Regions from separate parts of the Homo sapiens genome. Here region 1 is linked to region 2. The links are contacts of gene promoters, found by promoter capture Hi-C in blood cells and fetal thymus (Javierre and others, 2016). All regions are on one chromosome and are shown on one strand. The core of a region is centred on a gene start or on the middle of the fragment in contact, and the rest is flanking DNA. Distances in the headings are between cores, read along the strand shown.

Region 1 (3,343 bases), core at 744-3,243, 570 kb before region 2:
GGCTGAAGCCTAGGGGCACTCATCCCAGCTCCTGCACCTGCCCATCTGTGTGCTCCCCTTCCCGTAAGGGGTTTAAGCATGCACGGTCACCAAACAGACAAGTTACACCACTGTGGCACATCCTGCAAGCGGGGGGGGAGGGGGGTCAGGGAACTCCTGTTTCAGTAGATATATCTGATGAAAATAATGCTCTCCTGAGGGGATGATCGTGTATGTGGTGTGTGTGCGTGTCTGTGTGTGTGTGCACGCGCATGCATGTGCCATGACTTTTAGCACGTGTGCATGTATGTGAGGGCTTGTCTGGGCAATAGTGTCATTTAGTCAGCTAATGGGAACAAGCATCAATGCTGTTCTCTTTACAAGGCTCCTGTTTGTCTCTTTCTTTCAAGTGTTCCTCATTGCATGTTCTTTTCCTGAGAGCCAGCGAGTCTTTTCATAGCTTGGAGACAAAGAAAATTACTCAGAACCATCTTGCTTGTGGTGTTTCAGGGAATCTCCCCTAGGCTGCTGCCATAGTAGGCGAAATGTATTGGTTTTGACTCTGAGTCTCGTGTAGGTTACCAAATGGCGGATTCTTAGCTCTGTGATTGCCGTGGCTCAGCAAGCACCCTGAGCTGAACATCTAGTGGTTTTAACTTACCTCCTGTTGGTCTTGGTGAAACGGTCCTGGCACACTTGAGCCATTTACTCAACATATCCTTGAGTGCCTCTCATGTGCCTGGCCCTGTCCTGGGTGTTTGGAATACATATGTAAAAGCCACATAAAGGCTATGTTCTTGGAGTCTCCATCAGGCTCTTTCATAACTTTCAGTTTCCCACCTTCTGGAATGAGAGGTCACTATTCCAGGCTGTGGGAATGCGTTCATTTGCTTGGCTTTTTTTTTTTTTTAAGCTTCTAATTTTGTATAATGTATGAATGAGACACCATTGCTGCCCTCAGGGAGTTTGTGTGTGACAGAGAGAGACGGACAGGCAGGCAGACGTGTAAGTACTGTGCCACCAGCAGACTGGCTTCGTGCCAGAATAAGGTAGGAGCCTCAGCTCTGAGGGGAGGCAGGAGAAGGAAAGAACGGCTCTTCAACTGGGGTGGCATTTTTTGACAGAGGTGCTGTTTGGCTTAGCCTATGGTCAGAGAGTGCTTGGGGGATGTGACAGTGGGGCATGTGGGAATGGAGGTAGTAGACGATGAGGTCTCCACCCTCTGACTTTGCAGAGATGGGCAAGGCCAAGTGTTGGAAGGGCTTAAACACACACCGGAGTATTCTGTGAGAACCAGTGGATTTCAGAGGATGGCAATGACACCACTTGCCTTCTGCCTCAGGAGGATAACTGATGGCCGTGTGTGGGATGCACTGGAGAGCAAGAGCTGGCTTGCAGGGAGACCAGCTGGATGATTTTCTTTCATTTATTTTATTCATTCAACACACATTCATCTGGGGTTCACTCTGTGCCCAACACTGGGCATTTCCAAATAGTCCAGATGGCAGTAAGCATGGTTGTGGCAGTAGGAATGGGAAGGCTGGGAGGGGTATGAGAGGCATTACAAACGGGAAGTGGGAGTGGCACCCCAGAAAAGTCTAGTTTAAGGTGCTAGTGGATGTGTGCATGTGTGCGCGGGGGTGTCTAGAGGGTGGCGGGCAGCTGGAAATTGAGGTCAAGTGCTTAAAGAACAACTCGTTGTGTAGGACCCCCCCCTTTGTGGTAACAGCAGAGGTTTTTGAGAATCGCCAGTAATTTCTTAAACTCAGGCTGGTTGGGAGGTCATTCAGCCAGGGAACTCCACAAAGAGTGTTGCCACTTGGGTCAAAGTAGACCTCTGAAAATAAATCTTACAAGTAATTGCTGGTTTTAGATGCCAGTTTAAGAAGAGTTAAACCACTGTCATGCCCTAACGCAAACACTTTCATGCCCTAACTCATCTTTCAAGTTTGAAATTTAAATGTATGTTTCTTTGTTCTGAGTGACTGAAACATACACATGAAGACAACTTTGGTGGATGCAGGTGGGCATCTCAGTTCCTTTTGCTGAGTTTCACTTGCTCTCTGCTTCACTCATCCATGGTGTAGAAAACTGCAGCAGTCTGCCCTGCCATAACACAGATAGACATCATCCCTCACAATGGCTGGATAATTCCAGATTTAATGCCAAACAGAGAAAACTGATTTTATTTATGTTTTGTGATAAGAGGTACAGAAAAAAAACGGAAAGCGATGTAATGACTTGTCTTGACCAAATGCTTCCACTGCTCTGGAGGAGACAACCCACTTCCCCTGGTTAAGGAGGGGTGTTGCGTTTTAAACATGTGGTGGTTGTTATTCATTGTACTTTTTTTTAAGGTAGGAGATGTTGTTCTTTGGACTGAGTTAAATGCTGCTTAGCATAAAAGACTTGATGTGGAACAAAGCCTGCAGACTGTGACTATTTGACATGCACTGGGCTAATGAGAAGACAGAATGTCTCTAATCAGCAGCAGAACAAACACTCACAAAGGGTCTCCTTCCCTCCTAGGACTTCCTTCGCTGGGCATCTGGCTGGGATTCTTGTTGGACTAATGTACACTCAAGGGCCTCTGAAGAAAATCATGGAAGCATGTGCAGGTACAGAATAAAACACCTTTGGCATGACAACAGCTTGGAAGTTCATGTTAATTTTAATGTGAACAGAAGCAACCCCAAGTTTCCCTGTGGTTCAGCTCAAGAATTCCCTAATATGCCTGTTTTTCTTTTTAAACCGAAAGGTAAAACAACCAGTGCAGTTCCTTACATTGCTCCACAAAAGAGGCTGCAAACTTAAATTTCGAATCTGATACTTTCTTAGGGGACAAATATCAGTATATATTTATACCCTCAACCTTAATGCTACCCGCAGAAAACCACGATTTCCTAAAGAATGCAGAGAACTAAAGTGCCTTTAAAATAATGCATTCTTCTATAATAGTCCATGAATTAATATACGTGCAAGGCAAAGGTGAAAAAGAAAACAAAGCCTGGACTGAAGTGCATGGCCAGTATTTTAAAGAATTCAGACTGATGACCGGGTCCTTGGTGGATGAGCCATATATTCATGCATGGCGAAACCAAGTCTGTTATTGCTTGAAGCTTAGCTCCTGCTTTTTTTAATTTTGTTTTTCCCTTCAAATTGATACTCAATGAAAATATTTCATTTAGAAATACTTGTATTTTTTAGACCTCTTAATTTTCAATGCGATTCTCATTTTGACTTGTAAGAAAACTGGTTTGCAAACACTTGTTTTATAGACTGAGTTCCACTATTTCATCTTTTATTCATGGGAAGTCTTCTGAGACTATTTTACCTTTTCTTGAACCATAAATAATTTGTTTCA
Region 2 (3,266 bases), core at 735-3,234:
TTAAACACTAGTGCGATATTTGATGATCTTTAGGAGTTATTAACTTTTTTTTTTTTGAGGCGGAGTCTTGCTCTATTGCCCAGGTTGGAGTGCAGTGGCACAATCTTGGCTCACTGCCACCTCTGCCTCCCAGGTTCAAGTGATTCTCCTGCCTCAGCTTCCCAAGTAGCTGGGACTACAAGTGCATGCCACCATGCCTGGCTAATTTTCATATTTTTAGTAGAGACCCGGTTTCGCCATGTAGGCCAGGCTGGTCCTGAACTCCTGACCTCAGGTAATCCACCTGCCTTGGCCTCCCACAGTGCTGGGATTACAGGTGTGCGCCATCGTGCCCAGCCTATTGTTAACTTTTTAGATATGCTAACGGTATCATGGCTAAGTTTGAAAGAGATAAAGTTTTTATTTTTTAGGGATACAAATGGAACTATGTACCATTTAGATGAATGGTACGAAACCTAGAATTTGCTTTAAAATAATAGGAGAGGGGATGGAGGGTTGAGGTATTTATAAAGCAAGATTAGCCATGGGCTTAATCATTGCTGAAAGTGGTCCATGGGCTCATGGTAGTTTGATATTTTCCATAATAGAAAAGTTTAAAAACATTCATTGGCCAATCTATCTGTCCATTTCTTTTAATATTAAAAACATTAATTATTATTAGTAGTATTATATTAATATGAAGTCTCACTTTGTTGATTCACCCAATCCCTTTCATGAGAGATGTGGAGGTTGGTCTTGGCTGTTAGGAAACGTAGATTCTAATCCATTCAACAGCCCAGTGATTTGAGAACTTCAGCTCTCTGGGTCTCCCTGTACTCCTTTGGAAAACGAGAGACGAAGTTGATTGTTGCAGTGGGGATTTGGGTCCTGCAGTCTGGCTGTCTGGGTTGGAATTGAGCTTCGCCATAGGTACCCTTGGGTAAATTTACTTAATCCCTCAGGGTTTCATCTTCCTGTTTTGTAAAATGTAAATAACAATAACGCTCACCTCGAAGGGTTGTTGTGAAGATTACATGAACGATTTCATGTATTCATTCCGTCAACATTGAACACCTAGTCTCCAGCTCTGCGAGGGGAATGGGGTGGAGTGGCACAGAAAATACGGGGGCCAGGCTGTTTAGCGCCTAAAGGGAGAGTCCAGATCACCCATGGTAAACACGAAATAAGATGCAGTATTTCAAATAGCTAGAACTGAGACGAAAATACAACGCAGCAATTTGATGGAGAGCAACTTCGAGAAAGGTGAGCTGCAACATTAACTCGGCTGATCTGGGACAGTCTGGCGGGGGAGGTGACATCTGAGCCCCACCTGACTTAGAGGATGTCAGCTATGGATGATCCGGGTTTCCACACGCAGCAGTTCTCAAGCCAGGTGACTGCACCGCCCTAAAGTTCCCTCCACTTTTGGCAATGTCTGGGGATTTTTGGTTGCCAGCAATGGGAATTGGGGGGTTTGTTCTTGTATCTAGTGGGTATAGGCTAGGAACGCCGCCCAGTATCCTACAGTGCACAGGACACCCCAAGCCCCCCCAAATTAGCTGGCCCAAAGATAAAGAGAGAAGAGCAAGGGCAAAGGTCCTGCAGGAGTCAGAAAGGAGCTTGCTGTGTTCAGAAAACTCAAAATCCAGTGTGGCTGAGTGAGGACGACGAAGAATGAGGTAGACTGGGCTAGACTATGGAGCACTTTTTACGGCACGGTGAGGAATTTGGAATTATACTCAAAGCAGTGGAAAGCCCTTGAAGAGTTTTAAACAGAAGGGGAAGGTAACCCATGTGAAACGCTTTGCATATATAAGCGCTCAATAAATACTGTCTATTATTAATATTATTATCACCATTGTGTCTACCCTACTTGGCTCCAGACCCGGCCCATGCCTCAGCGAGGCCGCAGTGACTCCTCCTGGCCAGCAGAGGGCGCCAGCGGACACTTGGCTACCGGCCGCCCAGGGCGGGCCTCCTCTTGCCGTCCCCTTCCTCGTCTTTTCCCCTCAGGAGAAGTCGGGAAGGTGGCGGCGGCGGCGGCGGTTGTCCCGGCTGTGCCGGTTGGTGTGGCCCGTCAGCCCGCGTACCACAGCGCCCGGGCCGCGTCGAGCCCAGTACAGCCAAGCCGCTGCGGCCGGGTCCGGCGCGGGCGGCGCGCGCAGACGGAGGGCGGCGGCCGCGGCCAGGGCGGCCCGTGGGACCGCGGGCCCCCGGCGCAGCGCTGCCCGGCTCCCGGCCCTGCCGGCCTCCTCCCTTGGCGCCGCGGCCATGGCGGCCAGCGCGAAGCGGAAGCAGGAGGAGAAGCACCTGAAGATGCTGCGGGACATGACCGGCCTCCCGCACAACCGAAAGTGCTTCGACTGCGACCAGCGCGGCCCCACCTACGTTAACATGACGGTCGGCTCCTTCGTGTGTACCTCCTGCTCCGGCAGCCTGTGAGTGCGGGGCGGCCGGGCGGGTGTCGGGCCCTTCCCGGGAGGTGGGGGAGCGGGCGGCGGGACCGGGACCCTTCCGGGGCTGGGAAAGAGCCGGGTGCCGTGGGAGGCGGTCGGGGGCGGCCGTTGGGCGCCGGCTGGCGGGCGCGGCGTGGGAGGCTGCGGGCTGGATGCGCAGGGCCCGGGCAGCCGGGCTGGGGATGCGTTTTCGGTTTTGCCGGGCGAGGGTTTACGTTCTGGGCAGCCTTCGTGGGTGGGACGTGGGCGGGGTTGGGGTCAGGGAGGGGGCGACCGGGGCGAGCGTCCCTGGTCTCCGTCGAGCCTGCGGCCGCCGCCCTCGCTCTCCAGCTACCCGGGGCGCCGGGCTGTGGGGGGTGGGGGAAGACGCTAGGAGGCCGGGGGGGAGGTCCATGCGGGTCCTTTGTGTGCCCCGCCTCTCAGCGGCCCGGGAGCCGCGGTGCGGAGCGAGGCACCTGCTGGGCGCTCCTGCTGGGGGTCGGGGAGAAGCTGGGGTGGGAGGGAGGGACGCCTGCCTCGCCCGTGCCTTTTTTCTGGGTCGAGAGTACCTACGTAACTGGGAGGAAGCAGGCACTTAGGAATAGTAGCAGGATGAAAGCATCTTGATGGCAGATGTGAATCCCCTGGGAAAAGTTCGAAAGGATTAATTGCGGGAGGGGGAGGCAGAGGAGCAGATTTGAAGCTGTGGGATTTTAGTTTTATGGTCCGAAGAGAGTGTTGAGGAGTTGGGGGAAAGTTTTAATGGCAATAAGGTACCCACTAGGAGCTGTGTGATTCTAAATATGATGGAGTTATCTGTGAGATTTATCTGTATCTCGCTATCAATACCCG

The links. The method cuts DNA at HindIII sites, captures the fragments that hold promoters and counts their contacts. A CHiCAGO score of 5 or more calls a contact.
Region 1: a fragment that was not itself captured here is called in contact with the fragment with the promoter of AGFG1 in region 2 in 1 of 17 cell types (total B cells); the score reaches 5.1 in total B cells.

Annotation. Positions count from the first base shown.
Region 1 is chr2:226,904,285-226,907,627 of GRCh38, forward strand. RHBDD1 (rhomboid domain containing 1) reads left to right here. Exons shown (of 9, transcript NM_001167608.3): 6 at 2,509-2,597. Among named protein-coding and RNA genes, the nearest start is that of RHBDD1, 70 kb to the left of the region's middle. RefSeq lists a silencer at 563-712. The HindIII fragment of the contact is 2,206 bases long and covers 891-3,096 here.
Region 2 is chr2:227,470,172-227,473,437 of GRCh38, forward strand. AGFG1 (ArfGAP with FG repeats 1) reads left to right here and starts at 1,985. Exons shown (of 13, transcript NM_004504.5): 1 at 1,985-2,417. The coding sequence starts at 2,251. MIR5703 (microRNA 5703) reads left to right here and starts at 1,961; the gene lies at 1,961-2,016. It overlaps LOC124907994 (a long non-coding RNA gene), which reads right to left and starts at 1,928. Exons shown (of 2, transcript XR_007088114.1): 1 at 989-1,928; 2 at 617-818. RefSeq lists an enhancer at 898-1,861 and a silencer at 1,974-2,693. The HindIII fragment of the contact is 6,204 bases long and covers 1-3,266 here.